5 separate regions of the Homo sapiens genome follow, and all the other regions are linked to region 5. The links are contacts of gene promoters, found by promoter capture Hi-C in blood cells and fetal thymus (Javierre and others, 2016). All regions are on one chromosome and are shown on one strand. The core of a region is centred on a gene start or on the middle of the fragment in contact, and the rest is flanking DNA. Distances in the headings are between cores, read along the strand shown. Region 1 overlaps SLC28A2 (solute carrier family 28 member 2). Region 2 holds the start of SLC28A2 (solute carrier family 28 member 2). Region 3 has its middle 14 kb from the start of BLOC1S6. Region 4 overlaps BLOC1S6 (biogenesis of lysosomal organelles complex 1 subunit 6). Region 5 holds the start of AFG2B (AAA ATPase AFG2B).

Region 1 (2,700 bases), core at 1-2,500, 130 kb after region 5:
ACCATCACCCTCATGCAGCAGTATCTCCATCAGAGCTGAGGCACCTACCTGCCATACAGGCACTGATAAGGGATACACAGGCCCCTGTGAAGAGGGCCCTGACCACAACCTTGGACAAGTCACTCTTCCGGTGAGGTACTATTGATGCTGCAGACAATAAAATAAAATAACTTCAGCTTTTCCCCACCAAGGCAATCAGGTATATCCCATGGGCCCCCACTTAGAAGAACGCAGAGAAACAAAACACAGCCGATGAAGAGCATCCTTATTACCATCCACCTGAGACTGGCCAGTGTTGCCCTAAGAAGTGTGTGTATACATTAGTCCTGAGGGATCACTAACTTAGACTTTCCTCAGATCAAGTATTGAGTGTCTGACCCTCACTTTAATGGTTCTGTGAACATACCCAAGATGTATCTGGATAAAGCAAGGCTCTGGGTTTCTCCAGACAGGTACAAATGCCTGGCGTTCACTGCTTGAGATACGCACTCTTAAGCCTGGACCAGAATTAGATGGACTATTTTGAGACAGAGGGCTAAGGAAAGCAACACTCATTGTGTGGCCTAAGACTTAGCCACACAATGCATATCCCACTACTAGATGGCAGTCTCATAATCGGACAGTAATCAGGCATCAAGACTAGAACAATACAGTCAGGTGTTTGACAGAAGGGGAAAAGGTAAACTGAAAGGGAATTATTTCACCTTTCAATTAAATTGGCTACCAAGTACATGAATTAAATGACTCTACCCCAGAATATAATTGCCTTTAAAAAGGGACACACTGAGCTATATTTCTTATTATAATCTACTCCTTCTAAGATTCCTTCCTTCCTTCCTTCCTTCCTTCCTTCCTTCCTTCCTTTTCTTCTTTTTTTCTTTCTACAGGACCTCCCCATGTCACCCATGCCGGAGTGCAGTGGTGCAATCACAGCTTACTGGAGGCTCGATCTGAGTTCAAGCAATCCTCCCACCTCAGCCTCCCGAGTAGATAGGACTACAGGCATATGTGCAAATATGCCCAGCTAACTTTCAAATTCTTCGTAGAGACAGAATCTCACCATGTTGCCCCAGGCTGCTCTCAAACTCCTATAGCAAGCAATCTTCCTGCCTTGGCCCAAAGTGTTGGGATTACAGGCATGAGCCACCACATCCAGCCTAAGATCCATTTCTAACTTGGATCTTCCAAACTTGGGATCTGCTAGTCACCCCTGTGCCCCTGCACTCAAGGACAATTCCACTTTCCTCATATTATTCCTCCAACAATCACCCCCATGCAGCAGTATCTCCAACAGTCTAAATATATCTGTGTCTGCTTCAAAGACCCACTCCTTTAACATTTGGTACTTGCATATTTAAATCCAACACTTTACACCACTCTCTCTTACTGTCTATCTGCCTTATGTGCCTGCTGCTTTTATTTGTTTTAATTCTTTGTGTTTCCATGAGGATGACTAGTGAGCAGCCTAATTTCAAAAAGTGTCTTCACTACTGAATAAAATACAAGACCAGGTGTGGTGGCTCACGCCTGTTATCCCAACATTTTGGGAGGCCAAGGCAGCAGATCACTTGAGGCCAGGAATTCAAGACCAGCTTGGCCAACATGGTGAAACCCCGTCTCTTCTAAAAATACAAAAAAAATAATAATAATAATAATGGGCATAGTGGCACACACTTGTAATCCCAGCTCGGGAGGCTGAGGCATGAGAATCACTTAAACCCAGGAGGTGGAGGTTTAAGTGAGCTGAGATCACACCACTGCACTCCAGCCTGCGCAACAGAGTGAGACTCTGTTTCAAAAAAAATTAAATAAATAAATAAATAAATATCTTTATTTATATATGCACTATTCCAATTTAATGGCAAAATTGAAATAATATCATTATATTTTCTTCCTCATAGAGAAAATTAAAATAAAATTAGTTTTTGGGGCCTCCAATCCAAAGGAAAAAGAAGTAACTGAAGTTGAGATTATAAAGGGCTGTATGCATTAGCCAGGTGGGCATGACTGCCTTAGGTCCAAGTTAACTGCAGCCTAAGAAATGGGCCCATTTCACAATGGCTTCTCTATCTGATCCCAGCTTGTACTGAAGCACCAGGACTGCCCACTACAGAAGCTGGGATCTGGCTGTCTTACTGGGGAGCTGGGAAAATGGATGAACTCACTCAAGCCTCCAAGTGTGATTCCTATGGAACTAAGATTGGCAAATCCACAGAGTGAAAATGTTGTAATGATTTCAGCTCTCACCTAGGGAAAACAAAAATAAATAAGCAAATAAATTCAGTCCCATGCGTGCGGTCTTATAATCACAATAGAAGTTCCAGAGTACTGACAGCCCCCAGTCTTTTCCATGGTTTCCCAAGGAACATGAAAGGATGCTCAGAAAACAACTGTTCCCTGAGTTACTATAGGGATAATGACATGGAAACCACCATGGGCCTCATTGCCCAACGCTGTTCCTGTTGAAGGCTATGAATAACGAGAAGGCCTGGGAATGAGAAGGATTGCGAAGGAGGAGGAGAGAGGCAAAGGGAAAGAAAAAGAATATTAATTTGGAGCAATTTAAACTTATAAGTGAAGAAGGGGACCTTAGACCATCAAAAGATAGTGTCTGCCCTGGACTGCCCCAGCTGTAAAGACCCAGCAATTACATTATAGAGAGAAGTTGGGTCACAGTTGGGGCAGTGGTGGGGGTGGCAG
Region 2 (2,700 bases), core at 201-2,700, 150 kb after region 5:
TATGGAGTTTATGGCACATGTTTAAGTTAATTAATTATGTAAGATACATATATATATGTACACATGGTAAGGTGGAGCGGTTGTGATAATACCACAAGCTGCCTGAAGGGGCAGCCCACCCTAGATCCTTTCCTAACTGAACAAGATTCCAAAACACCAGTACCTCTGGTAAGTGGAAGGGCCCAGTCCATCCCCCAGGCTGTGTCCTTGTGCGTCAGTCCTCTTGCTTCCCTCAGGCTCTACTTCTTTTTCCTACAAGCACAGAGAGCATTGGGATCAGTCATGGAGCCCTGCCAGGGATGATGGGGATTGAGAGCAGCCAAATACCCTACAGGAGCCCATGCAGCAGCCCACAGCTCTGCAGAGAGAAACTAAACTGGTGATTACCATGAGCTCCAGCCCCGGGTTCACTGTGCCAGTCTCCACTGTGGACAGAGCAATGGACTGTCTTCCACTTGCTTTCTCCATCTCCTGTTCTCCTCAACTGAAAAACAAATTCAGGGCCAAGCCTGAAAGATTGGTCATTCTGTTCTGTGGGGATGGGGAGAATTTTTAGGACCAGTTACCCATGGAAAACGCAAAACTAAAAGTCTTTGAAGGCTTAGTTGATTTCTTTAAGAACTGAGAATTGAGAAGATTGGATGTGTAATTTTTATATAATAAATAATGAAAAATAAAATCCTATTTCCTCTTGTGAATAGCTAAAGAAGAGGCAGTAAGATAGGAGAAGAGAAATGAAAGGCAGTGGAATTGAAATGAATCAGTGGGCCGCCCAGGGCCCCAGGATCTGGGCTATAAAGGTTCCTACTTGGACCCTCAAAGAAAGAGTCACAGGGTAACTACTCCTTTTAGCCCCAGGGAGGCCCCACTGAGCTTGCTGAGTAAGAAGGAAACAGGGAGGAAGGCAGTTGGGAAGACCCGGACCCTAAAGTATTGCTGAACAGATAACAATTTACAGGCCTTCAAATTCCTGACTATAATGTAGCATAAGAATTGGTTTTTTATGCCCCAGAGAGAACTCATCAGTGAAATTAACAAAACTTACATTTAAAATAATTAGTATGAATGTTAATGATCCCAAGTAAAGTTTTTAAACAAAATAAGCAAACATTTGGGCCTCAGAATAAGCAAATTTAATACATGGACATTCACAATTAGAATATAAGTTCATTCTGAGATATTTATTTACTTTGCAGAAAATTCCCTTCCCCATGGAATTGCTTTTGAAAATGTGATCTCTTCAAGCATTTGAAGTATAATTTCATTAAACACACATAACCAACTTATATTGTGTAAATTAGGGCCTTCCTGACTAGGCACAAAACTACCTGCATTTAGTTTAAATATGATCTCTTTAAAAATTTGTAAATTAGGCACCTGCCCTCCCCCAAACACCTTTACTTACCCCAGCTTGTGGAATTGATTCCCTCTGGCTCCTCAGTGAAGGACTGAAAGAAAAGCTCAGCTGCGAGGGAGGAGGGGCAGCTTGGGTGGGGCATGGGGGCTTTCCTGCCATTGGTTAGTTTTATGTCTTGGGCCCTCCTTCGCTGAGCCTGCCCTCAATGTAGAGGAGGACTGCACCTCTCAAGTTAAATATTATATGTTTTTAAGACTGTTTTGCAGGCCTAAGACTTATGCAGAGGTGGCGCCCGCCCGTAATCCCAGCACTTCGGGAGGCCGAGACGGGCGGATCGCTTGAGACCAGCCAGGATAACATGGCGAAACCACATCTCTACAACAAATACAAAAATTAGCTGGGCGCGGTGGCACACGACTGTGGTTCCAGTTACTCGGCAGGCGGAGGTGGAAGGATCCCTTGAGCCTCTGGAGGTGGAGGTTGCAGTGAGCTGTGATTGCGCCACTGCACTCCAGCCTGGGCGACAGAGTGAGACCCTGTCAGAAAACAAAACAAAACAAAAGAATTCTGTAAGAACTTCTAACAGGTACATTCCTGTAAGCATTACCCACCACTGGACTAGGCACTGGGTAGCCTGTAAAATACAGTAAGAGCCGTCTCTGCACCCAGAAAATTTACCATCATTTTGTGCTGGAAAGACATGCCCTAGAAAACAATAAACAGCACGACTGTACATGATTCCATGCCAAATGACTGCTAGGAATTATTTTATTAATCCATTCAACAAATACTTATTGAGTAACCACTATTAGCCAGCCACCGTTTTCCGTGTGAGGACATAAAAATGAGTGAGACAAGGTCTCTGCCATCAAAAAACGAACAGATCAGTGAGGAAAGACGGATGTGTCAAGAAAGGCTTTGCAGGTCGAGCGCGGTGAATCACGCTTGTAATCCCAGCACACTGGGAGGCAGAGGCAGGCGGATCATTTGAGGTCAGGCGCTCGAGACCACCCTGGCCAACATGGCGAAACTCCATCTCTACTAAAAATACAAAAATTATCCGGGCATGGTGGTGCAGGCTTGTAATCTCAGCTACTCAGGAGGCTGAGGCAGGAGAATCATTTGAACCCAGGAGGCAGAGGTTGCAGTGAGCCATGATCATGCCACTGCACTCCAGCCTGGGTGAGCGAGACTCCATCTCAAAAAAAAAAAAAAAAAAAAAAAAGAGGGAGAGAAAGACTTTACAGAGCTGGTAACACTTATCCTGGCCTGGAAAGAAAGAAAGAAAGCTTCCTATGACGCCCTCTGGATAAAACTTAGGACCCCTCCCTGCACTCTGATTG
Region 3 (2,700 bases), core at 200-2,699, 170 kb before region 5:
TGTTGCAGCCCAGCCAGGGGGCTCATGCTCAGGGCAGTGCTGACACACCAGCCCCCAGCCACATCAGTCCCCTCCAGACTTTGGGTGATGAGGATCATGGGAGGGAAGCCGAGGGGGACTGCACGTAGCTCAACACTGGCCTGCAGGCACCTCTTGGCACAAACATCCTGGGTGCCAATGAATGGCCGTGAGAGGCAGACAGGCTCCTGGGAGGAAGGGGGTGGGTCCCCAGTGAAGCTCCACTTTCAGGCCAGGGAAGGTCCTACCAGTCCTGCCCACCAGAGGGGGAACTTGTGGTGCTTTTTCCTGAGCCCACCTATTGCTGCCCATGGACCAATCAGCATATACTTTCCCCACTCTGAATGAAAACCATAAAAACCCCAGACTCAGCCAGAGCAGGGCAGACATCAGGATGGCCAGCTGCATAGAGGAACTACCATCTCCGCTGAGAGATGAACATTTTTGGGGATGACCTGTCAGCAGAGAGGAGCCATCCACTCCAGGCCTCCTCTCTGCTGAGAGCTGCACACTCGATGGGACGACCTGCCCACAGAGAGGACCTGCTCACCGCGGGTCTCCTCTGAGCTGTTCTGACCCTCAGTAAAGTTCTTCTTCGTCTTGCTCACCCTCCACTTGTCTGCATACATCACTCTTCCTGGACATAGGACAAGAACTTGGGCAAAGGCACCACCACCCACAGAGGTTTCCAGCCAGAAAAGCAGCACCTCAAATATCCCAAGAAAAGAAATAGCAAAGGGCTAAAGTCAAAAGATTTGTTTCAAGCCCAGCTAAGATAATCATTAGCTGTATTAGATTTTTGTCTAACCAACTAGCAAGTAGAGAAGTCCAGACCTTCCTAAACAAACAAAGGAAGTTTTGATCAACTGAGCTTGAAAGTCCGGGGGCTGCTCTGGCTTCAAGGATTTCTATGTCTTCTCCTCAGCCAAAATAGGAATCTCTCCCTCTCTCTCCCTTTGATTCTCCACTCTGCTTTCTCCTATGTAGCATTCACTCTAGGAGCTCTCTCAATGTGATAGGAAAATAGCTCCAGGGTTTCATGATCCTTACATCTCCCAAGTGAAGTCAGTGCGCTCCTAGCATTCATTTATTTCAATCCCTTAAAAAAAAAAAAAAAAAAACTCAAAGCCAGGCACAGTGGCTCACACTTGTAATCCCAGCACTTTGGGAGGCTGAAGCAGGTGGCTCACTTGAGGTCAGGAGTTCAAGACCAGCCTGGCCAACATGGTGAAACCCCGTCTTTACAAAAAATACAAAAATTAGCCAGGTGTGGTGACGCATGCCTGTAATCCCAGCTACTCGGGAGGCTGAGGTAGGAGAATTGCTTGAACCCAGGAGGCAGAGGTTGCAGTGAGCCAAGATTGCACCACTGCACTCCAGCCTGGGCAACAGAGCAAGACTCCATCTCAAAAAAAAAAAAAACACTCAAATACTTGGATTACATGCCCACCCGTATACCAATCTCTGCATCTAGGGGAATATAGTGGACCCTGATGGGTCAGTGTGGGTCACACATAACAGACAGAGGCAGAGCCCCTTGACTGACAGACCTGCTAGGAGTTATAGAAAGGCACTGGGTAGTTCCTTAAAGGAAAAATCAGAGTCCTATTACCAAAAAGAGGAAGGAAATTGGCCCAACCAAAACAACAGATGTCAACTATATCAGTTATGAGATTTTAGTCAAGTCACTTACTCTCTGAACCTGTGTTTTTTTCATCAGTAAAAGAGGCATGATAATGATAATACCAGACCCATTACTCGGTGTAGTTCTTGTAAGAATCAAGCACGCATTATATGAACAGGATTTGTAAACTGCTGCAAGACACTATTGTAAATAATAGCACCCACTAAACGAGCATTTATTATGGCTAGAAGAAATAGTATTATTTCTGTTATTAGTGCCTTGGATACATATATTCACTAACCTTAATGTGATCTCTTAAATAGACTTTAGGTTTCCTAAGTAACCATTCAACCTTAATTTGGCTTCTTATGTAGACTTCTCTGTTGAAATAAGAGGGACTAAATGACTTAAATGAATATCGGAGGGCTTGGCAATTCTATGTTTTATTAAAATTCATTTCTTTTATACAAATCAACTTCATACAATAGGCAGTTTTTTAGTGGTTAATATCAACTGGTTAAGCTGGCAACTGAAGTTGCAAACCTGCAAAATTAGAAGATCAAGCTGTGAGGGATAGAGAACATCACCAATACCAGTGTTCTGCTTCTATTGGCAGGTGGGGAATCTTTTTTATTTTTTATTTAGTATTATCAAATCTGACAGTAAATGAATATCCGTAATATTGAGTGTTAATCATTTGAAATAGTATCAGTGTTTTTGAACTATTAGTAAAACTAGTCACAAATGATGATTCATTCAAATAACTTTAAATATTATTCAAAAGACAGCGATTCTTCTTCCACTTTGGGGTTTTCACAAAATTCATTTGTTAATCTTACATGTAGATATCAAAGTAGCCATCAGTCATTATTACTTTATTCTCTATGTTATGGAAAAAGTGTGATTTTAATGACCATAGGCATCATATATTATTCCAGGACTCAGCTTTCCTTTTAGGATAGATTTATTTAAATTAGCTAGGAGATAGATCATGCTTCATTTAAAATTGCTAAAATAAGTACTTGCATTAGCTATGCAAAATAGTCCTTTTTTTACTT
Region 4 (2,700 bases), core at 1-2,500, 200 kb before region 5:
CATCATAACCCAAATATGGGACAGGAGAAGAAAACACACAAACACAACTTTTCACATCCTTTTGGCTGGTCTGGCAGTTAACTGCTTTTCTCTTTCAAACTCCTTCTCTCGTTGCTGCTCCCTTTCCAACTCTTCTTTTTGCCTCTTCTGCTGCAGTTTAAGTGCTCTTTTCTGTGTTAAAAAAAAAATTTAAAAACCAAGAGAGCAATCAGGGGTTACAGGTTTAGCCTAATTTGAAAATAACAGTGCTCTGCTTTGAGGTAATTCATTCACACTAATAAACTTCATCTTGGACATTTAAATTTGGGATAATTTAAGGTCCCTTTGATTCAAAAAAATTTGTTGCTCTAAACTCTTATTAAATGAGAACTGTAGGGCATATCCAGAGAATCTAAGCCTATCAGCCCAGCTATTAGTAAAAATGCTCAGAGTGCAGTTGAAAAAAAAATGATATTTTTAAGGCTGCACGCAGTGGCTCATGTCTGTAATCCCAGCACTTAGGGAGGTCGAGGCCAGAGGGCTGCTTGAGCTCAGGAGTTTAAGACCAGCCTCGGAAACGTAGTGAGACCCTGTCTCTAATATTTCTTAAACAATGACATTTTTAAAAAGAAAACAATGTACCATGAATGAATTATGCTATTGTATATGAGGGTATAAAAGTCAAAATATGAATACTGGCCGGGCACAGTGGCTCACGCCTGTAATCTCAGCACTTTGGGAGGCCAAGGCAGGCGTATCACCTGAGGTCAGGAGTTTGAGACCAGCCTGGCCAACATGGTAGAACGCTGTCTCTACTAAAAATACAAAAATTAGGTGGGTGTGGTGGCGGGCACCTGTAATCCCAGCTACCTGGGGAGCTGAGGCAGAAGAATCGCTTCAACCCCGGAGGCAGAGGTTGCAGTGAGCCGAGATTGCACCATTGCACTCCAGCCTGGGCGGCAAGAGCAAAACTCCGTCTCAAAAAAAAAAAGAATACTGAAAAAAAAAAAAAACAACAAAAAACAATTAAACCTCTACTTTTGTAAAGAATGTGAAAGAATTTTCAACTCACTTTTAACTTTGATGTTTTTTCATGAAGCATCAGCATCTCTTTTCTTATATTCACCAACTTGGCATGATAGTGTTTAGCCTCAGCAAACTTAACATGGAAAAATAAATGAAAAGTCAAGTTAAAATAGACTAAAATATCAAAATGAATAAATAAGGCAATATATAAATGATAGTTTGTGCTTCCTAAATTGGTCAAAATTTTTACAGCCTTATCTTCACATTTTAATTCCAAAATAAAGATTTCCTTATATTGTTAGTAGGATTTGAAAGACATTTGATTTAGTTCAGATTGACAAAAGTGTTACTAAACATAAAATAGACATTTATATTAAGATGGGCATAGACAATATTTTGCTTTAAAAACATATAATTCTAAAATTTCAGATAAGACTATCTAATAATGCTATCAGTTTCATTTAAGAAAAGTAAAACATTCTCTCTGCCTTTACAAGAGACAGACTGAGCCAGAGCACATGAAACAGTTTAAGTGAAGTGTCTGCCCATAAGGAAAACCCAAACTGTGGCCACAGAGCCCTGGACAGAAAGGACTGTGGACAAGTTTAATCCATTCCTTGGGCTGCTTTAGTCAGACTAAGCAGAATGATCTCTGTGAGGACACTTTCCTTCTTGAGGAGTCTTAAGTACAGACTTTACAACTCAGCCAACCTGCATAATCTAAAATGAAGTCTTATGTCAGGAGAAGATGGGAGGATGATGCAAGCCTAGAGATGTCAGAGAGAAGGAGAAAAGCACCCTATTTTCAGACAAGGTTACAGAAAGAGAAGAAATGAAAGAAATGTCAGTAGAGAGATTCACAGCCTTAATGTAGCTGCAAGTAAAGTCATTGTCTGATTAGCTCAGAAGTTACAGTGCCTTTTTACATATCCTGGGCCTTCCAGTTTTCAGTTCCCAGATGATAATAAAAACTACTCTTGACTAAGAGAAGAAAAAAGAGGAAGACTCCATCCTGCCCCTTCAGACTAAAGCAACAGTATTACATCTGCTTGGTTAATTCATTCAACATTCATTCATTCAACAAATATTCCTTCTGTTGCAACAGGATTTCAGTGGGGAACACAAAAATAGGTCAGTGTAGCCTTGCCCACCTCCCTCGCAAGAAACCAGGAACTACTGGGCAGATGGCTCTGTATTTACTTCCACAGGCCTCTAATGCCAGAGAATATGAACTTTGTTTTTAATTGTTACAAATGGAAAACATTAGTAAACCATCTTTGTCCAAAGAAAAGTCCATTTTTTTGAGGTATGCATGAATGGCTACAGTCATGTAAACCCAGCTTCTTTTTTTCTTAATAGAGATGGGGTCTTGCTACGTTGGCCAGGTTGGTCTTAAACTGCACGCCTCAAGTAATCCTCCTACCTCAGCCTCCCAAAGTGCTGGGATTACAGTCATAAGTCACTGTGCCCTGCCCACAAACAAAACTATTTTTAATGTTCATCAGAAAATAAAGGTAGCAAAACAAGTTCCTTTTTTTGGTTAATTCCTTGTTTCTTATAATACAGAGTATCACTTCCTCTCATCAAAAAGCTATAGAACTTCTGATGAAATTCAACTGTTCAACTATTTATATTGAAAGATATAACTGATCATTCTCAAAGCGTCCACTTCAGCCTATAGCATTAATTTATTAT
Region 5 (2,700 bases), core at 153-2,652:
CCTGACTCACAGGTCCTGACAATTTGACTCTGGGGAAATACAGGTCCTGACTCACAGATCATATATCGGCAGAGAACGTGTTCTCTGCATTGCAAAGAGCCCCAACTCCAACCTCACCGATGCTCAAACCTAAGAGGCAAACGCCTCCGGGGCAGCCAAATGGCGCCAGAAGCGGCCGAGGTTCCACCGACAGTGGGCAAACCCGCCAAGCCCATTCACCTCTCGGTCAAATCTCCCGGGCCTACGCAGCGCTGGGTCTAGAGCGTCCGGCCGGTTAGTGGCTCCCACAACCACGACCTCGCGGTCCCCACTGGCGCCGTCCAGCAGCGTCAACACCTGGGCCACTACGCGGCTCTCGGGTGCTCGACTGCCCCGCTGGGGACACAAGGCGTCCATCTCGTCCAGGAAGAGGAGGCTGGGTCCGCGGCTGGCCAGTTCCCGGGCGCGCTGGAAGACCCGCCGCACGTTCTCCTCGGTCTCCCCAGGCCGGGAACCCTGCAGCGCCGGGGCGCTGACTGCCAGCAGCTCCGCGCCCGCCTCGCGCGCCACGGCCCGCACCAGCTGGGTCTTGCCCACTCCGGGGGGCCCCGCCAGGAGCACCCCGCGAGGCACCGCTAAGCCCAGCGCGGTCAGGGCGCGCGGGTAGCGGAGCGGGAGGCGGAGGAGCTCCCGCAGCGAGTCGGCCGCCTCCGAAAGACCTCCCAGGGGCACCTCGGGCTGCGGCTGGGCTTCCGACGGAGGCTCCCCGCCAAGGCTGACGCGGGTACGAGGGGTGACCAGCCCAGCGGGATCGGGACTGGGCGTCCCGCCGACGATGTGCAAGGCAGCCACCAGGCCAGGAGCGCCTGGCGGAGCGACCACCACGTGGCCCAGGGAGATCGGTCGGTTTCTCAGCAGCTCCTGTGCCGCCTCCAGCACCGCGGCTGTATTCCGGGCACCGGGCGCGCCTGCCCGCTCTCGCAACACCGGCCACACGGCGACGCGCCGCAGGGGCGGACAGGGCACTAGGAGGAGGCGATTCAGGCTGAGACTCCTCCGGGATCTCGACGCCCCGACCGCCGCCCCGGGGCTCGCGCACAGCGGGTCCAGCTGCACAAAGCCGTCCGCTCCGTCCCGCCGAGGCCAGGCAGTGCAGAGGCAGGAGCCGCCGTCGGGTAGCGAGATCTTCACTGCCGAGCCCAAGCGCGCGCCCAGGGCGTGGAGGGCGGCCGGGCCCAGGCGGCAGCGCTGGGTGCCCCGGTCTCTAGCGTCTAAGGGTAGCAGCTTTAAGAGCGGCCCTTCAGGGAAGGGATCCGAGTCCGGAGCCATCGCACACAGATGAACCAGGCAGACGAAACCAGATTAGGAAACCCACCCGGCCCACAAAAAGCGGAACACCGAGCTCGCAGGCCGGAAGCAGATTGCGCGCATGCGCTAGGGCAGACTGCGTTGCTAGCAGCTGAGTGAAGGCCGAAAGGGCCAATGGAAACGTTAGACGACGCTCGGGCCTCTGGGTAGAGCGTTGGTGTCCGCTTTCGTGAAATCGAGTTGCCTAACCCAGAGCTTTCCCGAGATGGTCTTCGTTACAGGTGTCTGGGAGGCGGCTTAAGCTCACTTCACTAGGTCATTAAGCATGTACTTTGGTGGTTACATATATCTTGGAAGTCACCGGCTTTACATTCTGTTTTCCTGGCCTTCGAACTGGAGCATCAGTACTACCGCCGTTGGAATAGCAACCTAGAGACTTTGCTATTTTGTGAAGAAACTCTAACTATCCGCATGGGCACAGAATTTTGGGTGCTCTGGTGCAAATGTCTCAGGTGACTTGGCGTAACTGAGAATACAGCCTTGGGACCTTCGGTAATCGGGGTTCCAATCTGGGAGGTCCAGGCACAACCCTTCCTATGGGAAAGTACCAGCATAGTGGGAGGGAAGCACACGGTAGCGCTTAAAATCCCTTGTAGAGAGGAAAGAAGGAAAACTAGGCTACCTGATGGATTTGTAGCACACCAACAGTACATTTGTTCTGATTTCTGATATTCTTTTGAATATTCTTTGGCAACAAGTTAATCACTAAAGTTCATGCGATCAATGCTTACTGTCTAATTGGGGCACAACAGTACTAAGTCCTGTATTAGAGGCGATACCTATCTACGTTATTAAGACAACTGCCTGCTATTTTTTTTTTCCAGCTGCTTTCTGCCTTTCCCTTTCGCACAGGGAATTCCTTTTTATCAGCTGGAATACATTTTCTATCCCTCTTAATTGCCGTTAAAAAAGAACTACAGATACTCAAAGACAAGAAGATATACCTTGTTTTTATTTGACTTACATCTTCCTACCTCTATTTTCCCCACTTTCACTGCAACCCAAATTTGTGAGTTGACAAAACTGATATTTTAGAGTGCTTAAGTTGCTGGGAAGTTTTTTTTTTCTATCTATGCAAATAATCAATTACAGACTGTGTAGTAATATCTTATCAATGGGAAGTACTGTCAGATCTGGGATCTTAAGACCCATGCCAGTTCCTGATCTCATTCTGTCCAAACTTCATGGCAGACATGACAGACTTCTTGACTTGACAGTAACTTACCTGGTCTCAGCTGTACTTGTCTGCTTAAATCGATTCTGGAACAATTTAGGAATCAGAAAATAGCAGGAGGAGGTCTTGAAATGGATAAGTCACCCATTACTTCCTGTTTTCTTTTTTCCTCTTAATCC

What was found. The method cuts DNA at HindIII sites, captures the fragments that hold promoters and counts their contacts. A CHiCAGO score of 5 or more calls a contact.
Region 1: a contact is called between a fragment that was not itself captured here and the fragment with the promoter of AFG2B in region 5, in 9 of 17 cell types (naive CD8 T cells, naive CD4 T cells, monocytes and 6 more). The highest score is 7.9, in naive CD8 T cells.
Region 2: a contact is called between the fragment with the promoter of SLC28A2 here and the fragment with the promoter of AFG2B in region 5, in 1 of 17 cell types (M2 macrophages). The highest score is 5.2, in M2 macrophages.
Region 3: a contact is called between a fragment that was not itself captured here and the fragment with the promoter of AFG2B in region 5, in 13 of 17 cell types (monocytes, naive CD8 T cells, total B cells and 10 more). The highest score is 10.3, in monocytes.
Region 4: a contact is called between a fragment that was not itself captured here and the fragment with the promoter of AFG2B in region 5, in 14 of 17 cell types (total B cells, naive B cells, naive CD4 T cells and 11 more). The highest score is 11.6, in total B cells.

The regions. Positions count from the first base shown.
Region 1 is chr15:45,269,742-45,272,441 of GRCh38, reverse strand. SLC28A2 (solute carrier family 28 member 2) reads right to left here. Exons shown (of 18, transcript NM_004212.4): 15 at 2,166-2,247; 16 at 49-147. The region is part of intron 1 of SLC28A2-AS1 (SLC28A2 antisense RNA 1); the gene reads left to right. Among named protein-coding and RNA genes, the nearest start is that of SLC28A2-AS1, 8.1 kb to the left of the region's middle. The HindIII fragment of the contact is 8,722 bases long and covers 1-2,700 here.
Region 2 is chr15:45,250,984-45,253,683 of GRCh38, reverse strand. It overlaps SLC28A2 (solute carrier family 28 member 2), which reads right to left and starts at 1,450. Exons shown (of 18, transcript NM_004212.4): 1 at 1,406-1,450; 2 at 388-484; 3 at 164-252. The coding sequence starts at 468. It overlaps SLC28A2-AS1 (SLC28A2 antisense RNA 1), which reads left to right. Exons shown (of 5, transcript NR_120335.1): 5 at 1,612-2,103. The HindIII fragment of the contact is 6,298 bases long and covers 1-2,648 here.
Region 3 is chr15:45,571,773-45,574,472 of GRCh38, reverse strand. No RefSeq gene overlaps it. Among named protein-coding and RNA genes, the nearest start is that of BLOC1S6, 14 kb to the left of the region's middle. The HindIII fragment of the contact is 5,703 bases long and covers 1-2,700 here.
Region 4 is chr15:45,603,866-45,606,565 of GRCh38, reverse strand. It overlaps BLOC1S6 (biogenesis of lysosomal organelles complex 1 subunit 6), which reads right to left. Exons shown (of 5, transcript NM_012388.4): 4 at 1,052-1,138; 5 at 1-171. The coding sequence ends at 52. Among named protein-coding and RNA genes, the nearest start is that of BLOC1S6, 18 kb to the right of the region's middle. The HindIII fragment of the contact is 4,089 bases long and covers 1-2,700 here.
Region 5 is chr15:45,401,038-45,403,737 of GRCh38, reverse strand. AFG2B (AAA ATPase AFG2B) reads right to left here and starts at 1,402. Exons shown (of 8, transcript NM_024063.3): 1 at 220-1,402. The coding sequence starts at 1,308. It also overlaps a transcript of GATM not described here. RefSeq lists silencers at 570-719, 1,110-1,189 and enhancers at 1,270-1,429, 1,820-1,889, 1,900-1,949. The HindIII fragment of the contact is 3,246 bases long and covers 1-2,700 here.